Linked DNA regions of Homo sapiens: regions 1, 2, 3, 4, 5 and 7 are each linked to region 6. Evidence: promoter capture Hi-C in 16 types of primary human blood cells and fetal thymus (Javierre and others, 2016). All regions are on one chromosome and are shown on one strand. The core of a region is centred on a gene start or on the middle of the fragment in contact, and the rest is flanking DNA. Distances in the headings are between cores, read along the strand shown. Region 1 has its middle 22 kb from the start of CD2. Region 2 overlaps TTF2 (transcription termination factor 2). Region 3 overlaps CD2 (CD2 molecule). Region 4 has its middle 5.7 kb from the start of CD2. Region 5 has its middle 22 kb from the start of LINC02868. Region 6 holds the start of PTGFRN (prostaglandin F2 receptor inhibitor). Region 7 overlaps IGSF3 (immunoglobulin superfamily member 3).

Region 1 (3,452 bases), core at 24-2,523, 180 kb after region 6:
CACACACATGTGTCTGTTGTCCCAGCCCCAACATGTAAAATGAAACTCCAAAGAATGTGATACCATGGGGTAGCTGGGAGGGTGGGGGCAAGGAGGGAGATTTTTATCTCACAAAGCAGATTTTATTTTCTGAGAGCCATATGCTTGATTTTCTTTTTCCCAAAAAGCCCACAGTCTCATGTGGAAAAGATTTAGAATTTTATTGGCTTTCAGGGAAGAGGGAATTAGAAATGTTAGATAAGTAGATATCACATGGGAACAGGATTTCATAGCACTCCCCCAGGCCTGTGGGTGAATGCCACACTATGAAGCTGCAGAACTATGGACAGAAATGCAAAACTGAGATGTGGCAAGAGCTGTGGGCTGGGGACAAGATGTGGGCTCCAGTCCCTGCTTTGCTGCTTAACTCCACCAAACCACTTCACTTTTCCTGAAATATGGGGGGAAGGCAATATTTGCCCTGTTGATATTGTAAAACCAATGTAAGTATGTAAGAGGGCCCTGAATGTGGTGTCTTGGCATTCAAAAGGGACAGTCACATGTCAGGTATTGTTATCTATGAGGATGTAACCTACAACCCAACCTAAGCTAAGGTACTCATTGGTCCACTTTTTAAGCAAACATATTAATTAAATGTTGTGTGAGAATACTTTGTAAGTGGCAGAAACTCAACTGAAAATACTTCATGCAAAAATAGGAAAATGATTAGCTCATGTGTTAATTCATCCAATCAGTAAGTTGACAGCACTCTGCTGAGTACCTCACTTGCCAGCTGCTGTTCTAGGAGCTGGATATATAGCAGCAAACTAAGCAGCCCAAGGTTCTCATAGGGTGCATGTTCTAAAGGGTAGATACAGATAACAACAACCACATATACACTGAGAAATAAAAATGAAATCCCGAGTCCCCCAACCAACTGAATGGTCCCCCGCCTGGCCAAAGAGTCCTCAAAGAAACCTTAAAAACTGACTTCCCAGCCATGACAGAGTGGGAAGTCGGACACATCTCCTTACACTCCCTTCTGCTAACTACTATTAGGGTTTTTTCCCTAAGGGTTAAACAGAAACCAGCCCTGTTTCAGTACAACAACTGATCAGAGTCCCTTCCTCATTAGACACCACTGACCATGGGGTGGTTTGGGCCAGTCTACAGAGGCTGCACACAGAGGGCCTTTGTGTCCCCTGCTTCACCTTTTGACATATAGAGCCTAACTGTAATACATTTAAATGTTGAGTTTCCACCCTAGAGCGAACACGGGATGCGTGTTTTACACATTAGCCTGCTATGCATGCCCACAACTCCCCTTTGCTACTATTTATAGCTCTTCCTATAACCTGTTGATTATGTATATTTGACCACCCTCTTCAGCATAAATCCCTGTCTTAGTCTTCCCACCCTTAAGTCCTTGCTTCTGGCTTCTGGCCAGAGGCTACACTTCCAGCCTGTCAGAATGGTCACCTGCAGAGAAGTACAGCTCTCCTTTCCAAATTTATGAACCTTGTGATTCTTCAGTTGACAGTATATAATTTTTTCAGGTGGTTGTAAGTGCTACAAATAAGATAAAGCAAGGCAAGGGGATACAGAGTTATAAGAAAGTGCTATTTTAGGAAGGAGGGGTCAAGGATGGCCTAACTGAAAAGGTAGCAATAGAGCAGCACCCTGAAAGAAAGAGAGAACAAACCGTGCAGCTATCTGGTGGAAGAGCATTCCAGGGAGATAGATCAGCAAGTGCAAAGGCCCTGAAGTGGAAGCTAAAATGCTAGTGAGGATACAGTGGGCTGAGCGAGGGCTAGAGTGGTAAGAGAGGAGGACAGCGGGAGCAGCCAGGCCATGCAGGGCCTGAGAGTCATGGTGAGGATCTTGGAGTTGGATGGGGAGCTGTTAGAGGGTTCTGAGCAGAGCAGTAGTGTGATCCGACTTACGGTTTTAAAAGGATCTCCTGGGCCACTTGTGGAAGCAGTGAGACCAGTGTGAGGGCTACTGCAGTAGTCTGAGCAAGAGGACTAGGAAGGTAGCAGCAGACATAGAAGGAATTGGATTCTGAATATTCTCAAAGGCAGTGCTGGTGGGATCTGCTTATGGATTGGATGTAGAATGTGGGTGCATAACAAAGGTGTAGGAGTGGTTCAGGCACAGCTGGATCCATGCACTTGAATAATAAAATTGGGACTCTTCATCTTTCCATATCTCTTGTCTCTGCTTTCTTCTGCATTGGCTTCATTTTCAGGTAGCCTCTTCCCATACAGTGGGGAAGATGGCTTCCAGCACCTGGCTCAACTCTGGGAGTGTTCTCAGAAGAGCAAGGAAGTTTTTTGTTCCCAAAGACTTCAATAAATGTCCTCTCTAGCCTCATTGGCTTGAACTGGGTCATGTGCTCAGCCTGAACCAATGAGAATAACAGGGAGGTGGGGGAGTGGGGTGGAATTACACTGACTGGGTTAGGCATAAGCCACAGCCTTCATTCCTAGAGTTCTGGGTAGTTGGCATCCCTTAAGTAAATGAGGAGATGTGGTGATGGAAAGAAAGCCAAAGGTGGTTATTGAGAGAATGGGGCTGGGTGTAAGTTGGCCACCACAATGTCCAGTGCATCCAGAGAAAGTTTAATGAAGGGCATCTAGCGTGAATGAAAAGGAGGGTACTCATAAAAATGCAATTTGGTGACCTATTACCTGTGAAGGCTGAGGGAGAAAGGAGGCTGTAGATGGTTCCAGAATAATCTAGGCAATGATGTTAATAGAAATGGAGACTATAGGATCCAAAGTATGCGTGGGTTGCAAAGGAGTGAGATGACTTCAATTTTATGACATAAGAGAGACAGACACAGAAATGACGAACCACAAGTCAGGGCAGAGCAAAATAGGCATTAAATGAGAAGAATAAGCAAAACGCTCAGGGGAAACTATAGCTGTGGTGCCTGCAGGTCATAGATAGAGGGACGGACATTGCCTCTGGCTGTCAACAAATCAAAAGTGAAGTTTGAAGGTCTTGGACTAGGAGCACTTAATTATCCATGGCTCTCAACGCCTTGAGGTCCCTAGCATCTTTGCTGTTGTTTGCTTCACCTCCAGTCTGTGTACCAGAGCTGCTAACAGGGAGCCCATCTCACTGCATGGTTTCCCTTCTTCCTTCTTGCCCCAGGCACAGTCTTCTGTTCAAGCAGTGAAACAGCAAGGGAAAGAGTTACCTGCCGCTGAGGGGCAAAGAGCACTTTGTCTGGCTGCAGATGGAAGACTGGACAACCTGGGTGATTTGGTTTCAGGGGAGGAGCCTGTGGAAAGGAGGGGAAGCCCAGCCGAGGACTTTTTTTTTTTTTTTTTGAGACAGGGTCTCACTCTGTTGCCCAGGCTGGAGTGCAGTGGAGTGATCACAGTGCACTGCAGCCTCCACCTCCTGGGTTCAAGTGATTCTCCTGTCTCAGACTCCCGAGTTGCTGGGATTACAGGTGTGCGCCA
Region 2 (3,862 bases), core at 1,326-3,825, 160 kb before region 6:
CCATATGTGTGGAGGTGAGGTCAAGAGAGAGGGATCATCACCATTCCGATGAAGGATTCCTAGAGAAGGTAGCATTTTAACAGTTGCTTAAACAATGGGGAAGAAAGTAGAGTCCACAGGAAACAGGAGAAAGTTTTTTATGAACCATAGGTGTAATGTGAAAGAAGTCTCAGAAGCAGATAATAAAATGGAAAAGTGAATGAATCAACACATTCTTTATTAAAAGGGCTTCCCGAATGTCTCTTGTAAAGTCGATGCAAACCCGGAGTTCTGAGGCATAAGCCACTTTACCTTGCTCTGGGGAAAGGGTAAGACCACTGAGTACTTCCTCCAGCTCCTGGATTTGTTTGATCAACTTCTGACCCTTGTCTGGAAGAGCCTGGATGTTCACTGATGCCAGTGTGCTCTGAAAAACAGATTCCATCAAATGGATCTCTCCTCTCACACTGTTAGATGAATAGTTTCAGATTAAAATAGCCTGAAACACCCAAACTCTGAAATTATGGTCTTTTAAATATGTGTGCAAAAACCAGAACCTTTTTTAAATTTTAACCCAGCTGGCTTACCAATCTTGAAAATATAAATAGGGGAAAAGGCAGAAACTGAACATGCACCTATAAAACCTTCACATGAACATATTTAACCCTTCTGTAGCAATGAGATCTCATATCTGCCCATAACAAGCAATGCTCTGACCTCAGAAACAAAACACGAGTCAATAGTTACCTTCTTTTGTTTCAGTTGTGTTGTAAGGTAGACACGCCGGGCTACTGGGTCTGAGGGTTCTACCTTCTTGGAAACACCTGAGGCAGGAGACACCTTTCTTTGCACACTTCGATCAGGGAATTGGAGGTTTTCCTTCGTCTCTAAGTCCAGAGTCGAGTCAAAGAGTAGGGGGCTCCCAGGCTTAGAGGAAACAAAAACAACATCATCTTCCTCCTCGTCGTCACTGCTTGTGGCAGCTTCACGGCCCTCACCCAGGGAAAGCCCTGGTGCTGCTGGTGCAGCCTGAGCCGCTGGTCCTCCAGGAGCAGGCACACTGTGGGTCTCCGGCCGCTCTTGGAAATGCCCCTGAGGCAGGCTTTTCTGGGTGGCCTGTATGCTAGGGCCATCCTTTGCCTTTGTTTCTTTAGCCTCCCAGTTCGTGTACTCCTTGTTGAGGGGTCCCCCTTTCTGGGGCTTGCTTATTGAGTTGTGACTGTGAACATTTTGAGGCAAAAGCTGGGTAACCTTTTCTCTCAGAGGTTCTGATTCTCTTTGGACATCTTGACTCTTACCACTTGATTTCTCCTGAGAAGATGCAGATGGTCTTGTAAGCTCATTACCTTGGCACTGTTGAGATTTAATTTCAGAAAAGTCTCTTTTGTGTGTGCCTCCAGTCTCTGCCTCACACTGAATCTCTGCTCCCTCTTCTTGCTTCTTCTCTTGAACTACAGATTGTTTTTTCTTTGGTACCAGGCCAGATGAGAGGTCTTTCTCCATCATTTCAGGCTTCTGTTCTTTCTTTTGATCGAAAAGCTGATCTCCCTTTTCTCTTTGCTTCTTATCAGCCTTCTTTTCCTCACCTTCACCTTTGATGAGCTGTTTCCAGAGAGCTGGTTCTTGATTCTTGTCAAGTACCTTGAATGGATTTCTCAGCCAGTTGGAAGAATGATGAAATGTCTCAGATGCATGCTGAGACTTATTGGATACAGAATGTTCTTTGGAATCAGGATCCTAAAGACAAAATAATTAATCTTCATATAAAATATTAATACAAACTTCGTATCTAGAATGCCTTTCCTTTTCATCTCAACTTTTATTTTATATACAGGGGGTACATATGCAGCTTTGTTATATGAGTATATTGCACTCAGGCAGTGAGCATAGTGCCCAATAGATAGTTTCTTAACCCATGCCCTCCTCCCCTCTCCAGTAGTTCACAGTATCTATTGTTCCCATGTTTATGGGTGCTCAATGTTTAGCTCCTGCTCGTGAGAACATATGATATTTGGTTTTCTGTTCCTGCATTAATTCACTTAGGATTATTCTGCAGAAGAAATGGAAACACAGTAAAAGCAGTCCAATATTTCCTGAACATTCTTGGTACCATTTCCACGTCTAGAAAAGATGACGTGCCAAACCCACAAAGGACTCATTTCTTCACGATACTTTCGAAGCTTGGTTCCTTCTCTGTCCATGATCACTCTTTTCCAGGCCTCAAGGAAAAGTAGTGACAAACCAAAGTGCTTTTACAATCACAATGGCCACAGTGTATACTTTTCAGGAAAAAAACTATTCTCTTAAGATGAACTTTTCCCCAAACCTAAACATTGTCTTAAAACACTTGCTTTGATTTTGGCTTTAGGAGGATTTTACTGTGGTAATCTAGAATCGTAAGTTCAAGCCACACCTCTGCCAAAACAAGTCTTATCACCTCCCTACTTCTAGTTCCTCACGTACTGAATATCTGTAGGGCTTCTCCTATTAGGAGATGCTCCTCCTAGTTCTAACATACTAGGAGCTTATGCTTATACTTAGCTTATACCAGTATCAAGTAGAAATTCCTCTATAAAAAGATACAAGAGTTAGTCAAGGAAATCTATTTTTTTCCTTGAGTAAAAGAATACTGACTACATTTAAGACCTCAAAAAATATTTACTAAGTGAAATAGGATGCAAATAATTAATCTTGATTACGACTAAATGATCCTTTGAATAAAAGTCCCAACAGGGCCTACCTTGCTTAAAGAAAACTATCTTTCGGAGACAGTCTGATGAAGACCAACTCATTTACGTGAACTTCAAGGTATTTTCAGGTGATGCTGCATATTAAAAGTCTTAACACAGCAGGTTTGAAAACAGATGAATAATTCCTACCTGCCATGGAATACTTCCACACCAGCGTTTCCCCTCTGCCTTACTTCTAATGCATCGGAAGAACAATCTAATGAAGTATAAAACACAAATAATCAAGGCTATGAAAATCCATTAGAACAAGAGATAAGCTTATTTTTAATCCAAGAAAACATCTTGCAACTATTTGAACCTGGCTTTGGGAGGTCACTTGAAACCAATTACTTTTATATACACATTTAAAAATTATTTACTGCACAGAACATTTATAAGGGCTAGGAAGTCCAAGAATAAATATGGCATGGTAGCCAGAGAATGCACACAGGTTTATTCTTTTTAGTCTGTAACGAATGACTGAAATAGAAACACTGATCAGCAATGGCTACTAAAATCAGAGAAATGAGAGACAGCCAGACACTGTGTGTCCCTGAAGGGGGGTCACAACACTAGCTACAAAGCAATGTTGCCCCAAAAAAAACCCCAAAACAACGAAGCCAAAACAAACAAAAAACTAACCTCTAGATCCAATTACCAATTTATAGGAAATAGAAACAACAGAAGAAGGCGTAAAACTATACTGTGGAGAATATAACCTTCAAAATCTTGGCAGTGGGAAACGCTATAGGACAAACAACCTGATCCCTTCCACAAATAAGTTACGAGGGAGAAAAAAAGATGAAGGGAAAACTTCAGAGACTTAAAAGACATATTAATCAATTCCAATTTGTGAACCTTATTTGGATCCTGATTTAAACAAATTAAAACTACTAAAAAAAAACTATGACATTTATGAGTCCACTGAAAATATGTAAACCAACTGGTATGTTAAAAGAGTGCAGCTGGATGCAGTGGCACACACCTATAGTCCCCTCTACTCAGGGGCCTGAGACAGGAGGATCATTTGAGGCCAGAGGCTGCAATGTGCTAAGATTGTGCCTGTGAATAGCCACTGCACTCAAACCTGGGCAACACAGCAAGACTCCCTTCTCTAAAACATACAAATATTTTTTAAAAAATAGTTCATATCT
Region 3 (3,600 bases), core at 571-3,070, 140 kb after region 6:
AGAGAACTCAAGGAATCAGCAGGAAGAAGACACATGGGTGGAGGGCTTTGTGCCTGGGGCTCCCATGATCAGAGAGAGCACGCAGACCTGGAACCCTACCTCTGTGCTGACCTAGAAATTGTTCCCTGAGAGCAAGAACCTCATGGTTAGAGCGCATGGGAAGGGGTTATGAGCAGTCATGGAGGATATTAGTAACTACATTCCTTCTGAGGCATTTCTATGTTAGATCTGCCTTTCCCCCAATTCTACTGTCATGCAATCCACCTTCCGGCAAGAGGTTGGAACACATGCAAGGAACTTTTTGTCCTTAGAAATTTACTCGCTTCTCAGAAATTCAAGACCTATGTTCTTGGCCTTAGGAGGGAAAGAACTCCTCCTCTCCTCACCCTTCAGGATTTTCTTCTTTGTGTGACTTCAGTCCATGAAAGCAGGCCTACAGCTACTCGTAATGTAGTTTTTCCTGTACTCTTAAAATCACAGGGAATCTGTGAAGGTGCCCAGCTGCTAGAGGCCTGGAGCACCCTGCTGGCCCCTCTGGACTCCTTTAGGCTGTAAGTTAGGTATTTCAGTCCCTGCACCCAAGGCCGTCTTTGCAGTGGCTCCAGAGGGAGGTAGGAAGAGAAGTTTTTCCCTGGGGTGAAATAATTACCTCTTTTTTTTTTTTTTTTTGAGTTGAAGTTTCACTCTTGTTGCCCAGGCTAGAGTGCAATGGTGCGATCTTGGCTCACTGCAGCCTCTGCCTCCCAGGTTCAAACAATTCTCCTGCCTCGGCCTCCTGAGTAGCTGGGATTACAGGCGTTCACCACCACGCCCGGCTAATATTGTATTTTTAGTAGAGATGGCGTTTCTCCATGTTGGTCAGGCTGGTCTCGAACTCCCGACCAGGTGATCTGCCTGCCTTGGCCTCCCAAAGTGCTGGGATTACAGGTATGAGCCACCGCACCCAGCTGAAATAATTACCTCTTACATCTTTATGGAGATGTGTGGCTGGGGAAGCACAAGCCCTCTCTAAGCATCACCCTGTAACTTCCGGATGTTGATTCAAACCAGATGGCCTCCTCTGACTACATGAAATGTGAGCATCAGATGGCTTTGAGTGTAGAGTCAAAGTTAGACAATGTGATTTTGATACCTAAATGGCTCGTGTGCTCTAAGCACAAAGAGGAAAGGGCCTCCAGAAAGGACAAAACACATCCTCTATGCCATCTTCCGTGCCCTGCAGTCATTGCTTAGGTTATGTCCAGTAGACTGTGGAGAGGGCTCTAACCCCTGGCCCTAGTTCTGAATTATGGGGCAGTGGGTGGTCCTTCTTCATCTCCTATGTGGCAAGCTTGCACTGGCCATTGGTTTACTACTCTGTTCACCCACTATTTTTGTTTTTTATTTGTTTTGTTTTTTTGAGACAGGGCCTTGCTCTGTTGCCCAGACTGGAGTGCAGTGTGTGATCGTATCTCACTGCATTCTTGATCTCCCGGGCTGAAATGATTCACCCACCTCAGCCTCCTGACTAGCTGGGACTACAGGCATACACCAATGCACCCACCTAATTTTTAAGTTTTTTTTTTAAAGTAGAGACCAGGTCTCACTATATTGCCCAGGCTGGTCCCAAACTCCTGAGCTCAAATGATCCTCCTGCCTCGGCCTCCCAAAGTGCTGAGATTACAGATATGAGCCACCACACTTGGCCCATACACCATTTGGTTCATTTGTCCTTCCAACATTTATTCCTCATCTTCCAAGTGTTAAGTGTCATTGTGACTTAGACACAAATTGTCCTCAGGAAGCCTAAAATCAAGTAAGAGGCAAACAAGAACTGAAAATCGCAATGTCAATTTCTGTGAAGAGCCCAGGGCCACCAGAAAGTGTAGACAGAGGCACATGAGCTCTGGTAGGAGGAATGGGGTGTAGCCACATGGCTGAGACTGCAGGCAGGGTTGGACAGACAAGGTTGGCTACGGCTCTGTGCACCCTGCCTGGTTCAAGCAGGACAGTGGGTCCTCAGCCTACCCACTCCAGCAGCTGCAGCTGGCGCCTAAATGTGTGCTCCCAGGAATTCCTCCAGGCTCATTGTCCTTCTCCCTTGTTTGCATCTCCTGGTTACTCAACCCAGGGCATGACTGGAATGAGGCAAGCGAGGCTGACAGGCATGCAGTTTAAAGACACACCAACTTTCAGGTTGTGCAAGGGCAGGCCAGCCTCCTTAAATTCTATGCCTTAAATTCTGGGCTCCTTGCCTCGGCCTAGGCCTGAGTCAACCTACTGGCCATAGGATTTAAGGCAAATAATTGAACCTCACTGAACTTAAGCTTCCTCATCTGTGTTGTTATCTATCTCCTAAGATCACTCTGAAAGCTGGATGCACTAATAGACATAAAACACAGAGACTAACGACTTTTTTATCAGCATGAGCTAACCATCATTCTTCTCAGCCTGGTGATGGCAGAGATTGCCTTGTCTTGGGGTGACAAGTGAGGTCCACCTTGGAAGAAGATATGGTCTTTGACCATTAGTCAATGGAGAAGGAGCATGGAGAGGAGCATGGAGAACAGCCAGAGCTGGGCACAGAGGAGGATAAGCCAGGCATGCCTAAGGGCCCTGCCAGCGATTCTGCTGTGCTGTGGTGGAAAGTGTGGGACAGTCGTGGTGGGAAGAATGGGACTAAGTTCAGGATGATGTTTCGGGGCCTGGGCTGGGGGTAGTGACGTGATGGGACGTGGGGCTGAGGGACCGCAGCCTGATGGGGAGGCAGAAGGAGAACTGAGGAAGAAATCTGAGGTAAAGAAGCCAAATCCAGAGGGCACGGGGCCCAAGGCCACCGGTGCCTGGGGAAGTTTGGACCACCTCCCTGGGCAGCACTGGAAGCAGCTGGTGTGGCTGTGCCTGCCGGTTCTAGGGAGAGACCAAGTCCTGCTGTGAACGTGAATTGCAGAGAACCCCAGGGCCTGTTCCCTTGGCTGCAAGTCCCGCCAATGGCTGACACCCTCATCTGTGCCCCCCACAGTGACCCCGGGTTGGCCATTCTCTGAAGTGTTCTGCCTTGGGTGGCCTGGATGCTCCCTAAGCCGGCTCCCCACTTGCAAGCATAACCTTTTCATTGCTGATAGATTGTCAGACAGGCCTGATCTGAGGAAAAACTCTCAACCCTAACACATCCCTCGAACAGAGAATTAGCAAAGGGGGCACAGGCACCCTGCTTTAGAACAGCTGTTTTCCTGTGACTACCTGATGACCTGAATGATTTTCCCTGTGTTTCTAGGAGCTTGGTCCTGAACTCACCTTGGGCCACCCATAGATAGGACATTTATTCCTAGAAACGGTGTTTTGGAGCTAACCTTTCTGCCTATGTAGAGAAGTGTGGCTCATTCAAAAGATGTTCACATTAGCCTGTCACCAAGTAGGCCTCAGTGGTGGATTCCAATGAGGCCAACTGGATTCAGTGTCTCAAAGCTCCCACATTGTCACCACTAAGAATTTGTTTTTCAAAAATCAAGCTAACCACAAAATGAAACAAGCTATAACCGCTGACTACAACCCTGACATTCCGAAACTACCTATTTCCATCATTTTCTCTGCAGATTCAAGGTGTCATCCCCATGAGCT
Region 4 (3,830 bases), core at 433-2,932, 160 kb after region 6:
AAAATGGGTCAAAGTCATAAAAGGAGCAATCCACAAAAGAAAAATTTTATTTCTATTTATTAATAAAGAAATGTCAGTTTTAACATAGATGCATTTTTCATCTTCATTTGAAAAATGAAAACATAGTGTTGATGATGGTGTAAATGGGCATTCTTGTATATGGCCAGGAGAATTGCAAGTAGGTATAGTTTCTGGTGGGCAATTTGTCAGTGTGAATTAGAGTATCAAACATTTGTGGATTTCTAACAAATCCACAAGGATGATTTTATCATAAGGAAATAATGAAGGCTATGTACTAGACTTGGCTATAAATTTATATGCTGCAGTATTTTAAAGACAAAATTGGAAACAATTTAAATGTCTAAGAGAAGGAAATTGGTTAAGTAAATCATGATATAGACAAGCTGTGGAATATGACAAAAACAGGTCCCAATTGTAGGAGAGGTGAAAAGTAATCTTTTTCCTCTTCTTGTCTTAGGTTCTCTGGCTGGAGCCCTGTAAACCAGACTGGGAAAAGACAGGTTAAGAAGGGAAAGGCACATTGAAGTTGATTAAGATGTGTATCCCTCATAAACATGGGAGCACCCAGTGGTGAGTAACCCAAAGGGATGTTAGAACTTGGACTTATAGAGTATATTAGACTAAACAAAGAAAAAGCGATTTGGGGCTTCTAGGTTGGGGAGGCAAGTTACCCAATGACCAGGAAAAGTGTGCCAAACAACAAGATGTGTTTAGTAAGGTTTGTTATGCAGATTGAAGCCAATGCCTTCTCCATTGATAAGAGTTGTTAAGAGTCCTCCTCTTCCTGATACAGGAGAGGGAGATACCTTTTACAAACGGCTATTTTCTTCAGAAATTGTAAATTTTCTTTACAAAAGAAAAATATTGTGCCATGTTTTTAAAGCTTTTACTGCCTCTGCTGGTTCATGATGGCCTTTTGCTCAAAAAAAAACCATATGTTAAAAAGGCATGTTTTAGGGTGGCACTGAAGTAGGAGGTGGAACTTGACTCTGGAGGTGGGGCTTGGACACTGGACCAAATTGAGGACTAGCTAAAACAGAGATAGGTGGAAGCAGCTTTCCATAAAACATGCTCACCAGTGTGCCATGTCAGTTTACTGTTGCCATGGCAATAACCAACTTCTACCACCTTTTTCCATGGCAATGACCTGGCGACCCAGAAGTTACCACCCTTTTCCTAGAAATTTCTGCATAATCTGCCCTTTAATTTGCATATAATTAAAATGGGTATAAATAGGACTGCAGAACTGCCTTTAAGCTGATACTCTGGGCACACTGCCTGTGGTGTATACTTGCTCTGCAAGGAGCAGTACCTCTGCTGCTGCTTCAATAAAAGTTGCTGTCAAACACCACCAGCTCGCCCTTGATTCTTTCCTGAGTGAAGCCAAGAATACTCCAGGCTAAGCCCCAATGGGGCTTACCTGTCCTACATCAGCATCTTCTGGTACCCTTCACAGTCAACAATATAGTCCCATTTTATTTCTCAAAAAGCGTGTGTTGGGTGCATCTCTTGCAGAATGTCCCCAGGGTGTTGGTCCCTGTGTGGTGGGATAATAGCTACTATTCTGCCCTCCTTGCTTGCTGTTGCTATTCTAATATATCTAAATTGAACACGTATTGTCCTTCAATTGAATTATGTTTAATTCTAAGTGGACCTGTCACTTCGGTAAATGTTCTGAGTGCTGAGGCAGGTGCAGTCCCTGCCTCTGAGTGTTTGCATTTCAGGGGACCATCTACTCGGTTGCTCATTCCAGCTCCTCCCTTGCCACTCTTGCTGCACTGTACAGGTTAGCTCTTGCTCTGTCTTCATTGATTCTTTTTCTTACCTAAACTCACACTCCTGGGGAAGTAGGCTACAGGGAAGAGAATAAGAAGCAGAGAAGGAAGAAAATATTCTTGGAGGTCTTACTTTAGGTTGACCTCTTATTCCCTGATTAGTAAAATATTGATGGTCTTGACTTCTACCTCCCTTTCCCTTTGTCAAAGGAGAGCCTTAACAAGGCTCAGGTCAAGTCAGGACTGTTAGAAATAAGTGCTCAGTGCCACAAGGAAAAACCAGCACTTAGACAGAAAATTTCTCAGCAAGGCACATTTACTTCTGCAGATGGGTGCTGCCTGTGTCCCTCTGATTGTACGAGCACACTAAGCGGGGTAGCACAGGGGTTTTTATCCCTAATGCAGTTCCTGTTTCTGTGTCCTTTCCCCACTGGCTGGAGTCAGACCGCACAGTCTAAGCTGACTCAATTGGCTAGTGTTTGAAATTGAATAAGGCCAATTAGGCAGGAAGGGAGAGGCTGTCCATTACCAACTAGGTGAAAAGAGTTGTTTAAAGAGTAAGAGGTTTGCCAGTTACAGATTAAGCAGAGAAACAAGTGCTCGTTACAGATTAAGCAGAGTACGAAGTGCTCATTACAGATTAAGAAAGACCAAGGAAGCTTAGAAGAGGAACTTATTATTTTTGGCAAATTTCCCCCTCTTGACTTTATAGTTCTCCCTCTTCACATTTCCTTAACATATCCTGACTTTGTTGCTCCTCTTAGTCATTTAGGAGTAGGAACTTATCTGAGTAGGGTGGGGGAGAATCGAGGGGTTTTCATGAGGGCTTTTTCTATAAGCCTTTGCACTAATCAACAAATACAAGGTATGATGCAGCAACCTACAAGAGTGAGTACACCTATAACAATTGCAAGAGGGGTAAAGATTGAGGTTATGAGTCTCTTCCATTTTCCAAACCATTTTCCCATGAGACCAGAGAAGGGGTCATCTATTCCAGAATTTAGCTAATTCATTTGTTAGGGTGGTAAGGCCCTGTAAGGCTTTTGTAATTGTTCCATCAGGGGCTGTGTTGTTAGGGATAAAAGTATAGCATTGGACCCCAATCATGACACAGACCCCACCTTTCTCAGTCAATATCATGTCCAGGGCTATTCTATTTTCCCGGACCATTTGGGTGGTAGGGCCTAATTGTTCAGCTATTCCTTTAATGGTATCCCTAGCATAATTGACAAACTGCTGTTGATTATAGTAAATGTAATTTATCCAGTCTACATTTTTGTTTACATTTACCCATGAGAACAATATAGATTCAAATCCTGCAGCTATTTGATTTCAAGTTTTAAATTCATTTGGCACTCTTGTGGAACTCTGATGGCATCTATATAAATGTGAGAGTCAAAGGACCCGTGGGGGGATGGTACTTCTTTTTTGCAATTGTCTTTTTTGCTTTGTTGATGAAATGTCAGGATAAAAGGGATGGCCAATTGAATTAGGGTGCAAGTGCCGATCCAGTCACTTGGCAGAGTACCTAGTAGTGGTCCACTGCAGTACTACCATACATCTGCTCTGGGATGAACAAGGGCAGAGTGATTGGTTAGCTCCTGAAAAGGCTTAGGCTTACTGCATCCCGCTAAATTCGGCATGCTTTATTGCCCCAGGCTGTGGGGTTTTGGAAGAGAGCTACCATACAGCTCATACCCTGTTGGTTGGAGGATCATCCAAGTGGAAAGGGGATAATTTGGGTCCCTGGCCTTCCCGTTGCACAAGTGTAACAATCGCTTTTGTTTAGTGTGTGAATGGAATATCTAATCAATTCTAGCCAGGCATTTGCATCTTGGTACTCCATTTCAATAGCTAGGATTTGTTTTAAATCTTTAACTTCTACAATGGCTACTTTGGTGTTGCTATTGGGTAGGGAGAGACTGGTAGTTTGATTAGAAGGTTTAGGAGAGGGAGGAGGGGATGAGGGGGTGACGAAACGCATTTCAAAAAATCCTATAGAGTCTGCCCCTGCGACCTCTGCTCCTATACCAT
Region 5 (3,903 bases), core at 613-3,112, 190 kb after region 6:
GTGGCAGTGTCTACACAGCAACAGAACTCTTGATAATTTTCCCCAAGCTCACCCACCCATGTAGCATTTGTTGAGAATTCCAGGAATGGGAGAAAGGATGGAGTGGGGTCTCTCAGGGTATGTAAAACATACTTGGAGCTGAGCAGTGGGTGAACTCTAGGGGTCTGGCTTCCAACAATGAGTCATAAAAACTGGGAGAAGGTCAAGATTCAAGATAGCCCTTGTTTCTCATATGGTTTATGCAAAGCTCCTGTGCTGTGAGAGAACATTCTGCATTCAAGGAGTTTACAGACATTTAGGGTGGCTGGAGTGAGAAGTACAAGGAGGTGGGTGTATGAGCGAGGTTGAGAACAGAGGCCAAGTCAAACAGAGCTTTGTAAATCATGTCAAATATTTGAACAAATGTCTGAAACAGGTGCCCATAACTGGCTTTTACAGGTTCCCTGTGGCTCTCGTTATACATGAGTGGCATGGAGATTTCAGTTAGAAGCTTAGAAGGGCTGGGGTTCAATGTGATGCTTTGATATATGTATATATCGTGGAATGACTATATTAAGCTAATTAACGTATCTGTTGCCTGACATACTTATCATCTTGCACAATGAGAACATTTAAAGTCTACTCTTTCAGCAATTTTGAAGTTTATAATATATTATTACTAACTATGGTCACCATGCTGTGCCATGCTGAGACCATCTCAAAAACATCTTCCTCTTGTATAATTGAAACTTTGTACCCTTTGATCAACACTACTTGTTCCCCACCCCACTGCACTCCTCAGCCTTTTGTAGCCACCATTCTACTCTACTTCTAGAAATTCAACTTTTTTAGATTCCACATATAAGTGAGATCATGCTGTATGTGCTTTTCTGTGCCTGTTTTATTTCATTTAGCATTATATTATCCAGGTTCACCCATGTTGTCACAAATGACAGAATTTCCTTCTTTTCAAAGGCTGAATAGTATTCTGTTGCATATATTGTGTATGCATACCACATATTCTTTATCCATTCACTGGTTGATAGACACTTAGATTGATTCCATGTCTTGGTTATTGTGAATGATACTGCAATGAGAAGGAGAGTGCAGATATCTCTTCAACAGACTGATTTTAATTTCTTTGGATATATACCCGGAAGTTGGATGACTAGGTCATCTGTTCATTCTAATTTCCGTTTTTTGAGAAAGCTCCATACTGTTTTCCATAATGGCTGTACTATTTTACATTTCCACGGTCAGTGTACAAGGGTTCCTTTTTTTCCACATCCTCACCAACATTTCTCTTTTGTCTTTCTTATAATGGCCTGTTAGAAACAGGTGTGAAGTGATAGCACATTGTGGTTTTAATTTGCATTTCCCTGCTGTTGGCCATTTGTACATCTTCTGTTGAGAAATGTCTATTCAGGTCCTTTTTCCACTTAAAATATTGGATTGTTTTCTTGTTATTGAGTTGTTTGAGTTCCTTATATGTTTTGGATATTAACTCCTTAACAGATGAATTGTTTGCAAATATTTTCTCCCTGTTTATGTGTTGCCTCTTTATTCTGTTAGTTGGTTCCTTTGCTGTGTAGAAACTATTTAGCTTGTATTTCTGGTGCTACAGAAATACAGAGGATCATAAGAAATGACTATGAACAATTATTTGCCAAAAAATTGGATTTTTATGAAATCCAATCTAGATGAAATGGATAAATTTCTAGACACATACAACCTGCCAAAACTGAATCATGAAGAAATAGAAAATCTGAATAGATCAATAATTAGTAAGGAGATTGAATCAGTAATAAAAAGCTCCCCATCAAAAAACAGCCTAGGACTGGATGGCTTCATAGCTGAATTCTACCTAATATTTAAAGAAGAAAAATATCAATTCTTCTCAAACTCTTCCAAAAAATTGAAGCAGAGGGAATACTTTCAAATTCATTTCTCAAGCCTGCCTTTACCCTGGTATTAAATCCAGACAAGGACACTACAAGAAAATAAAATTACAGGCCAATATCCCTGATGAACATAGACGAAAAAATTGTCAACAAAATAGTAGCAAATTGGATTCAACAGCACATAAAAGGATCATGCACCATGATCAAGTGAGATTTACCCTTGGGGTGCAAAGGTGGTTCAGCATACACAAATCAATAAATGTGATACACCATATTAACAGAATGAAGGGCAAAAACCATCATCTCAATATAGAAAAAAAATTTGATAAAATTCAACATCCTTTCATGATTAAAACTCTCAACAGAAGAAATGTACCTCAACACAATAAAGGCCACATATGACAAGGCTACAGCTAACATCATACTCAGTAGTGAAAAGCTGAGAGTTTTTCTTCTAAGCTCAGGAATAAGGCAAGGACGTCACTCCTGATACTTCTGTTCAACATAGTGCTAGAAGTTCTAGCCAGAGCAATTAGGCAAGCAAAAGATACAAAAGGCATCTAAATAGGAAAGGACGATGTGAAATTGCCTCTATTGGCTGGCAATCTGGTCTTAGAGAAAATCCTAAAGACTGCCAAAAATTGTTAGAACTGATAAACAAATTTTTCAAAGTTTCAAGATACAAAATCAACATAGAAAAATCAGTAGTGTTTCTATACACTAACAACAAATTTTCTAAAAAAGCAATCAAGAGGGCCGGGAGCAGTGGCTAATGCCTGTAATCCCAGCACTTTGAGAGGTCAAGGTGGGCAGATCACAAGGTCAAGAGTTCGAGACCAGCCTGGGCAACATGGTGAAACCCCATCTCTACTAAAAATACAAAAATTAGCCTGGCATAGTGGTGGTGCATGGCTGTAATCCCAGCTACTCGGGAGGCTGAGGCAGGAGAATTGCTTGAACCCGGGAGGCGGGGGTTGCAGTGAGCGGAGATCGTGCCACTGCACTCCAGCCTGGGCGACAGAGCAAGACTCTGCCTCGGTGGGGGGGCAGTGAGGGAGGGAAGCAATTAAGAAAATCCCGGCTCTCTGCTCCTCCCATTCCACAGACAGCTGCATCTTCTCGTGTAGCGCCAGCTGCATCCCTGAGACATCATGGTGAAGGTGAAGCCTGGAGTCAATGGATTAGGCTGTATTGGGTGCGTGGTCACCAGGGCTGCTTTTAACTCTGGTAAAGTGGATATTGTCGCCATCAATGATGCCTTCAATGACCTCAACTACATGGTCTACATGTTCCAGTATGATTTCACCCATGGCGAATTCCATGGCACTGTCAAAGCTGAGAACAGGAAGCTTGTCATCAATAGAGATCCCATCACCATCTTCCAGGAGCTAGATTCCACCAGAATCAAATGGGGTGATGCTGGCACTGGGTATGTTGTGAAGTCCACTGACATCTTCATCATGGAGAAGGCTGGGGCTCATTTGCAGGGGGAGCCAAAGGGGTCATCATCTCTGCCCCCTCTGCTGATGCCCCCATGTTCATGATGGGCTTGAACCATGAGAAGTAGGACAACAGCCCCAAGATAGTCAGCAATGCTTCCTGTGCCATCAACTGCTTAGCACCCCAGGCCAAGATCATCCATGACAACTTTGGTACTGTGGAGGGACTCGTGACCACAGTCCACACCATCACTGCCACCCAGAAAACTGTGGATGGCCCCTCCAGGAAACTGTGTCATAACAGCCGCAGGGCTCTCCAGAACATCATCCTTGCCTCTACCGGCACTGCCAAGCCTGTGGGCAAGGTCATCCCTGAGCTGAATGGGAAGCTCACTGGCATGGCCTTCTGAGTCCCCACTGACAATGTGTTGGCCAGGAACCTGACCTGCTGTCTGGAAAAACCTGCCACATATGATGACATCAAGAAGGTGGTGAAGCAGCATCAGAGGGCCCCCTCAAGGGCATCCTGGCCTACACTGAGCACCAGGCTGTCTCCTCCGACTTCAACAGTGACACCCACTCCT
Region 6 (3,562 bases), core at 365-2,864:
CAGTTCAGAAAATCCCTTCAAGGTGAAGGAAGAAAACACAGCAGCCAGCAAGGCTGGTTCATCAGCAGCAGGAGTCATGGGGGTTACAGCAGTGTGGGCCCCGGTGTCCCCAGCAGGGGAGTAGCTATAGAAGGCCTCCTCTGGAACCCTCTGACCATAAGTGCAGAGTAATCATTTGCCCTGTGTGCAGCTGGGACCTGAATGGCACGGACACCGCACATCATGCGCTCTGTGAAAGACTCAGAGCCGCCTTCTCTAGGGGCTTGGAAGAGAACCCCAGGCCAGGTCACAGGAATCATCTTGTCCTGGTTGACACTGACAACAAGGATCCAAGAATATCAAAACATTTAAGAGTCGGCCCTGGGGTACCATGGTGGGCACTTAATAAACATATTTCCGTGGCTGGCTAGGATCACCATGTGGATCTACGTGAAGATGGTGTCTGTGTATGGAGTGAATGGAAAATGGAGAGGGAAAAAACCCACAAAAGATTCCTTGGGTGGGGGGAGGGCGCTGGGCCAAAACCTCACGGGGCACCCAGGGTTTCCGGAGGGTGGAAGACGAGGGGATAGTAAGGGAGGGAAAGTAACAGGTAGAAAAAGTTGGAGAAGCCAGGCTTTTAGGTCTTTGTGTATAAATACGCAGCTAGGCAGCTTCAAGAAAAGCTAAAAGAAAAGACTGAGGCAGAAGATCTAGCCACGACGAAAATGACGGCAGGACTCGCCCGCCGATTTCCATTGTAACGCTCCGGGCCACCCTGTGACCTTCGTGGAAGGAAGTTGGAGGATTCTCTCGCTTCCCTGGAAAGGCAACTCCGCGCGGGTTGGGTGAAGAGCGACCCGGCCGGCGGCGGCTATGGCGGGGCATATCAAAGGCTCACATTTCCGCTCTCGAGCCGAGGACCCGGGCCGGGACCGCAGCACCTTCCGGGCCGGGAGTTCAAGGTGAGCCGGGCTCCCGGCGGCCAACAGGTAGGGAGACCTGGGGGAAAGACGGCCCCGGGCCACTCCCCCCGGCACATGTTGGGGGCGAGGCTCGGCCTGGCGGAGCGGCCACTTGCACCCCGCGCGCGGGGCCCGAGCGGATTCGCGCCAGGCTCCGGGCGGCCCCGCGGCCGCTCCCCGCCGGGCCGAACAACCCGCGCACCCCGGCCGGGTTTCCCGGGAGCAGCCCGGGCACCCTCGGCGCCCCAGGCCGCGCGCTGCAGCCGCGCCCCGCCGAGCCCTCCAGGGCCTCGCCAGTCCCCGTGTGCCCCGCTGAGCCCCGCGCACACTCACCCAACGACAGGAGCGCCAGCAGCAGCGGCCTCGAGGCCAGGCGCCCCATGCTCGCCCGGCGGGAGCGACTCTCCCCCTCCTCCTCCTTCCCCGCCGCCTCTCCTCCTCCTCCTCTTCCAGCTCCGGCTGCTCCAGAGTCGGCGCTCCTCCGCCTGGGCCGCGCGCCTGCTCCGCTCTCCTCGCGAGCCGATAAATCCCAGCGCTGGGGCGTACGTGCGCCCCTGGCTCCGCTCGCTCCCTCCCGCCTCCTTCCCTCCCTCCTCCAGCCGGCCGGGCCCGGGAGCCGGCCCCGCCGATCCGAGTGTGCAGCCCCGACCGCTTCCCGAAAGCAGAAGGGAAGAACCGCAGCGCCCGCCCGCGCCTCCCATCCGGCGCTTTGCCAGCAACAAACACAAACTTTCCCAAGCCCCTCCCCGCTCCAGGTAACGGAGGAAGAGCCGGGGCCACCCGCTTAAAGGCGAGGAGGCGTCGGAGCCCACCCTGCCATCCCCTCTGGGCCCCCACCCCACGAGAAACTTTCCTCCGACCTTTAAAAGTTGGCCTGGGAAAGACTCGTCTGGAAATCCCATCGCTTTAGCCCTATCCCGGGACACCCCGCGTTCCATCACGCTGGAGTCACCCACGCGTGTCTAGTCTATCCTCAGCCAACTCCCCGCTCGTTCGGCCTCTCGTCCTGAGCTAAACACCCCACCAACCAGCCGCTTGGCCTATGCCAAAAATTATGCAGATAGGAGCGAAGGAGCTGAAAGGACTTTTAAAGGCCACGGATTCCAACCTCTACCATACAGAGGCCTTAAGTGTTTCGGTGAGGTGCCCAAGGATTCACAGGGAAGGGGCAAAATCAGAACCCCGCTCTCCTGACTCTGCCCACTCCCCGGTGGCTAGGGTGGGCCTGTCTCCTTCCTTACCCAGCTCCCTCCCTCTCCTCGGCGCCTGTGGCACTGATTAGAACAGCACCCCACAAAGACACCCATTTAAAAAACAAACAAAACCCAAGTGTATTAATAGCTATAGTACTTCATATAGAATGTACTCTTAAGACTTAATATTTATTGCTCTAAGTGGACACCACTGATTGCCAATAAAGACTCATTTTTCCCCCTACAATAGAGTTTTGTGCTTTTGATTTGAATACAAAAGGCCCGACTTGGTTGGGAGAAATGGAGCATTCCTTGCTTGAAACTTAGCAAGCATGATTCAAACACGCAAGGAGCAGCACTGGTGCCCACTGCCCGTCACTGGGCTTTCATTCACATGCAAAACGGATCGCAGATGCTTATGCGGAAACTGCCCACACTGGGGAAGAACACTGCTTTTACTCTCATGCATCCGTCTTTCAACCAACAAATGTTTCTTATTTCCCCACTATCAAATGTGTGATTAGCCAGGTATCTTTGGAAAGAGACTTAAAAATTCATTCCTGGTGGTGCAACGTTATTGTACTTAATGCCACTGAATGGTACACTTAGAAATGTTTAAAATTGCCAGGCCTGGTAACTGGTACTTGTAATGCTAGCTACTCAGAAGGCTGAGGTTGGGGGGGCAGGGGGAGGCGGGGGGCAGGGATGGTGTTGCTTGAGGCCAGGAGTTTTTATTTGTTTTGTCTTCTTTCTTTCTTTCATTTTTGAGACAGGGTCTCAAAATGAGGATCTGTCACCCAGGCCGGAGTGCAGTGGTGCGATCAGGGATCACTGCTGCCTTGACCTCCCAGGCTCAAGCAATCCTCCCACCTCCACCTCTCAAGTAGCTGGAACCACAGATGTGTGCCACCACACTCTCGCTAATTGTTTTTATTTTTTGTAGACACTGGAGTCTCCCTATGTTGGCCAGGCGGGTCTCGAGCTCCTGGGCTCAAGCGATTCTCCCGCCTCGGCCTCCCCAAAGACTGGGATTACAGGTCTGAGCCACTGGGCTGGCACTTTTTCTTCTTTTTCTTTTTTCTTTCTTTTTTTTTTTTATTTGAGGCTAGAAGTTTGAGACCACTCGGGCAACATTGTGAGACACCGTCTCTAAAAAAAAATTTTTAAGGTTAAAATGGTAAATTTTGTGCTATGTACATTTTACACAATAATTTTTTTAAAATTTATTTCTGCCGCCAAGCCTTTCCTGGTTCTGTTCATACACACTGTAATTCCTTTCTCTTCCCCATCCCAATTCTTCCCTAGAATCTCGCAGGGAAGTTTCCCAATTTCATTCAATCAACCTTGAATTCAAGCCTAATGTTAGGCCTTGGAAGGTAGTGGAGCTTCAGAGAAATGTGAGGCCTGGCACCTTCAGAAGCTCAG
Region 7 (4,001 bases), core at 375-2,874, 250 kb after region 6:
TGTTTCTTCTGGCTGCTCAAGTAATGTAAGGCTGCATGCTGGTCCCCCTGCTGTTCGCTCTCTGGGCCACTCTGTGGAGTGGAGCTCGGGCCCTGGCACCTGGCAGGTGCTGTCATTTTCCCTCCACCCTCATCTTCATGTGTAAACAGGTGCCATGGAGGAAAATGAGCATCAAGGTGGCTTTAAAGGGGCACAGTGGCAGACATCCAGATGCAGGCTGAAGTGGGAAGGTTTGGAACTGTAGGCATGCATGTGGATCTCTGCCTGATTTGGAGCCCCACTGGTGGAACCTCATCTTTCTCTTCACCTGATGGCTCTCAGTATGGCAGGAAGGAGGCCTGGCTACTACTTTACTAATCTGGGAGAGGTAGAAGGCGTTTGGGGAGGGAGCAAAACCCATGTTGGGGTCTTATTTCCTGCTTGTCTTCTGATGTGGTCTGGTTCATGTGTCAGCATTCTTGCTGCATAATGTGAATTAATGTGTAGTATGAATTTAAAACAGCGAAGAATCCCAAGGTTTTAAGCCCATATAGGTCACATGCCTGGAATAAAATTTTGTTTAAAAAAGTTGGATAAGGCTAAGTGCTCTGAAAGTGAGACCGATGCAGGTACCAGCCTCTAGAAATGGCAATTTTAGTTAGAAAACCCTGGACAGTATGTGAGGGGTATACAGGGTAAATCTCGGAGACGCTTTCATCTCCCTCAACATGACAGACCTGTGCTTTTCTGCACCTGTCCTTTGCCAGTGTCTGGGATTGGAATCAGATTCCTCTTTTCTGTCTGTTGGGATACTGATTCCTGCTTATGTCTTTGTCCTACCCTTTGTCTTTGTACCTACCCCCTTGACCTCTGTGTGTTGTTTCCTTCTGTCCTAACCCTAGGTGCCTCACCCAATAAGGGTTGTGGTGGCAGTGCATGGCTCTGCCACCACAACCCTTGGTTCCAATTACAAAGCCATTTAAGCCTGGCTCTGGTTGAACCATGAGGGTAGTAAAGTCTCTATTTGAGGATAGATGTGGCCAGAGGGGCAGAAGATTAGAGAGAGAATAGAGGCTGGTACAGTGGTAGGAAGGGAAGGGTGACTGGAAAAGTGCCTCTGTCTGGGAGCAGCCTGCATGAGTGACAGTGACATGGGAAGATGACAGCAATGTGGGAAAGAGAGCATAGGATTTGTGTCTGTAAGAACAGGAAGGAAATTCTCAGGAAAGATGAATATAAGCTTTAGACACATACAGCACATTTTGATTTTGTGTAGCCAGGAAGAGTTATATACCTCCCAGACCAGTGCTGATGTTGCAAACAAGATTAAATAGCTTTAAAAGTGTTAGCAATGAAAAATGTAGGAGATTGGGACATCTGAGAACCTGTAGATGGCAAATGATCATTTGTGTTCTGCTCCAGAGGGAGAGAAGTTCATTTGTAGAGTTTGGGAAGTCTCTTCTTTGAATACGGTAAGGCTGAGGAAGCCATCTCTTACTTCCCAGTTAGTTAGAAAAGGCTTCTGAAAGGGATTGAAAGAAACTTTGAAGTACTATGGGTGTGACCTCAGAGGCAGGGCTGGAGTGATCAAAGGCAGAGGAGAAAGAGGAGGCAGAGAAAAGTGAGATGGTTTGGAGCAATCAGGAGAAGGGTTCTGAAAGAAGGGGATGAGGATTGTGATTTATGGATGAACAAACACCACTGTCCTAATAGTTGTCCCAGAGGTAGTGCACTTCCCTTTCCTGGGGACCATTTGACAAGGGTGCAGGAGAAGGAAATTCTTGTCAGGAGGACTTGGCCTACTAGGATGCCTTTCAGCTGTGAGAATCATTGAGCTACCTCCAGGTACCCAGGGCTGTGTTAAGATGTTGCCATCTTCTACGGTTTTCATGGCAGCAAGACTGCTGGTACTTCCATAATGGCAGTAATACCAGCTCTCCTAACTCTAGCCCTTACTGTGACCCAACTATATCAATCAGTCTTCAAAACAACCCTGTAAGATAGATACCTTGCATTATCACATTTTTATAGATGGGGAGATTGAAGCTTAGGGAGGTTAAGTAACTTGCCTAAGCTGGGCATGGTGGCTCATGCTTGTAACCGCAGCACTTTGGGAGGCTGAGGCGGGTGGATCACTTGAGGTCAGGAGTTTGAGACCAGCCTGGCCAACATGGTGAAACACCGTCTGTACTAAAAATACAAAAATTAGCCGAGCATGGTGGCACATTCCTGTAATCCCAGCTACTCGGGAGGCTGAGGCAGGAGAATCGCTTGAACCCAGGAGGCAGAGGTTGCAGTGAGCCGAGATCGCGCCGTTGCACTCCAGCCTGGGCAATGAGCAAAACTCTGTCTCAAAAAAAAAAAAAGAGTCACTTGCCTAAGATAGATTGCTGACAGTGTTAGGGCTCCAAGCTCCTGCTGTCTTGCTCCATGTGCATGCTCTCTATTCCCAAGATGACTTCATGGTCCAAGATGACTCTTCTAGCCGCAGCCATCAGGAAGGAAGAAAAGGCTAGTGAAGGGTAGGACCTCTTAATGTAAGGATACTTCCTGGAAGTTATATACATCACTTCCACTAACATTCTCATTGGCTAGAACCTAGTCATGTGACCATATTTAGCTGCAAAGAAGGCTGGAAAATATGCTTATCCTGAGGGTCCATGTGTCCTGAGAAAAACTTGGGATTCTATGACTGTAGGGAAAGGAGAGAACAGATTTTGGGGGACAGCTGCCCATCTCTGCCATAGTCACAAAGCTAAAAAGTGGCAGAGTAGGGTTTTGAAGCCAGGACCATTTGGTTCCAAATCCTGTGTTCTTACATCTAATAAGCTATTCCGTTTGACTCTGAAGCCGAGCCTCTGGCTTCTAAGAAGGCTTGTTAGGAAGGCATGAGTTAGATGAACCAACGTTTGTTTCATAGGAAGCAACCTAAATCAGCATATAATTAAACACTACATTTTGTGGTTTTATCAGTGAGTATTAAAGTGTTTATAGAGTGCTTATGTGCCAGTCACTGTGCTAAACACTTTACATAGCATGACCTTCTGTATAAAATTCTTGAAGACCATCTGTCATGTTCATTACTGTAGTCCCAGAACTCAGCCTTGTGCCATGCAAAGTAAGCAGGTGTTCAGTTATTTTATTTTTTTTGAGATGGAGTCTCACACTGTTGCTCAGGCTGGAGTGCAGTGGCACGATCTTGGCTCACCGTAACCTCCGCCTGCTGGGTTCACGCGATTCTCCTGCCTCAGCCTCCCGAGTAGCTGGGATTACAGGCACACACCACCACACCCGGCTAATTTTTTTGTATTTTTAGTAGAGATGGGCCTTCACTATGTTGGCCACACTGGTCTCAAACTCCTGACCTCGTGATCCGCCTGCCTTGGCCTCCCAAAATGCTGAAATTACAGGCGTGAGCTACCACACCTGGCCCAGTTAATTTTTTGATGAGTGAATGGTTTCACAAGGTAGGTGTTGTTTCTGTGTTGGCTTCCTTGATCAAGATAAGGAAATTCATGACACTTTTCCCTTGAAAACAATTATGTTCAAAGGAAAAGAGCTGGAATTTGGCAGAATCTGAATTTGAATTCACATTTGTCTGATTATAGAGCTTCTTAACCTTTTTTGTGTTATGGATCCTTTTGGCAGTCTGGTGAAGCCTATAGACCCCATCTGAGCATAACATTTTAAAATGCATACGTGGCCGGGTATGGTGGCTTACGCCTGTAATCCCAGCACTTTGGGAGGCCAAGGTGGGTGGATCACCTGAGGTCAGGAGTTTGAGACCAGCCTGGCCAATTAGCTGGGCGTGATGGTGTGTGCCTGTAATCCCAGCACCTCGGAAGGCTGAGGCAGGAAAATCCCTTGAACCTGGAGGTTGCCATGAGCTGAGATTGCGCCACTGCACTGCAGACTGGGCCACAGAGCAAGACTCTGTCTCAAAAAAAAAAAAAAAAAAAAAAAGAAAAGCATACATAGGCCAGGTGTGGTGGCTCACTGCTGTAATCCTAGCACTTTGGGAG

Evidence for each region. Contacts are between HindIII fragments. The CHiCAGO score rates a contact against its expected background, and 5 or more counts as called.
Region 1: a contact is called between a fragment that was not itself captured here and the fragment with the promoter of PTGFRN in region 6, in 8 of 17 cell types (non-activated CD4 T cells, naive CD4 T cells, naive CD8 T cells and 5 more). The highest score is 8.3, in non-activated CD4 T cells.
Region 2: a contact is called between a fragment that was not itself captured here and the fragment with the promoter of PTGFRN in region 6, in 2 of 17 cell types (naive CD4 T cells and non-activated CD4 T cells). The highest score is 5.2, in naive CD4 T cells.
Region 3: a fragment that was not itself captured here is called in contact with the fragment with the promoter of PTGFRN in region 6 in 1 of 17 cell types (naive CD4 T cells); the score reaches 5.2 in naive CD4 T cells.
Region 4: a fragment that was not itself captured here is called in contact with the fragment with the promoter of PTGFRN in region 6 in 2 of 17 cell types (naive CD4 T cells and M1 macrophages); the score reaches 6.6 in naive CD4 T cells.
Region 5: a contact is called between a fragment that was not itself captured here and the fragment with the promoter of PTGFRN in region 6, in 5 of 17 cell types (naive CD8 T cells, non-activated CD4 T cells, total CD8 T cells and 2 more). The highest score is 6.1, in naive CD8 T cells.
Region 7: a contact is called between a fragment that was not itself captured here and the fragment with the promoter of PTGFRN in region 6, in 2 of 17 cell types (fetal thymus and activated CD4 T cells). The highest score is 5.7, in fetal thymus.

The regions. Positions count from the first base shown.
Region 1 is chr1:116,730,565-116,734,016 of GRCh38, reverse strand. No RefSeq gene overlaps it. Among named protein-coding and RNA genes, the nearest start is that of CD2, 22 kb to the left of the region's middle. The HindIII fragment of the contact is 4,954 bases long and covers 1-3,452 here.
Region 2 is chr1:117,072,724-117,076,585 of GRCh38, reverse strand. It overlaps TTF2 (transcription termination factor 2), which reads right to left. Exons shown (of 23, transcript NM_003594.4): 4 at 2,859-2,925; 5 at 727-1,716; 6 at 292-406. Among named protein-coding and RNA genes, the nearest start is that of TTF2, 14 kb to the right of the region's middle. The HindIII fragment of the contact is 827 bases long and covers 2,162-2,988 here.
Region 3 is chr1:116,764,661-116,768,260 of GRCh38, reverse strand. The region is part of intron 4 of CD2 (CD2 molecule); the gene reads right to left. Among named protein-coding and RNA genes, the nearest start is that of CD2, 12 kb to the right of the region's middle. The HindIII fragment of the contact is 976 bases long and covers 1,333-2,308 here.
Region 4 is chr1:116,746,805-116,750,634 of GRCh38, reverse strand. No RefSeq gene overlaps it. Among named protein-coding and RNA genes, the nearest start is that of CD2, 5.7 kb to the left of the region's middle. The HindIII fragment of the contact is 1,551 bases long and covers 907-2,457 here.
Region 5 is chr1:116,713,964-116,717,866 of GRCh38, reverse strand. It overlaps the pseudogene GAPDHP64. Among named protein-coding and RNA genes, the nearest start is that of LINC02868, 22 kb to the right of the region's middle. The HindIII fragment of the contact is 2,739 bases long and covers 493-3,231 here.
Region 6 is chr1:116,907,968-116,911,529 of GRCh38, reverse strand. PTGFRN (prostaglandin F2 receptor inhibitor) reads right to left here and starts at 1,614. Exons shown (of 9, transcript NM_020440.4): 1 at 1,278-1,614. The coding sequence starts at 1,326. The HindIII fragment of the contact is 4,060 bases long and covers 1-3,562 here.
Region 7 is chr1:116,660,421-116,664,421 of GRCh38, reverse strand. The region is part of intron 2 of IGSF3 (immunoglobulin superfamily member 3); the gene reads left to right. Among named protein-coding and RNA genes, the nearest start is that of IGSF3, 5.3 kb to the left of the region's middle. The HindIII fragment of the contact is 806 bases long and covers 1,222-2,027 here.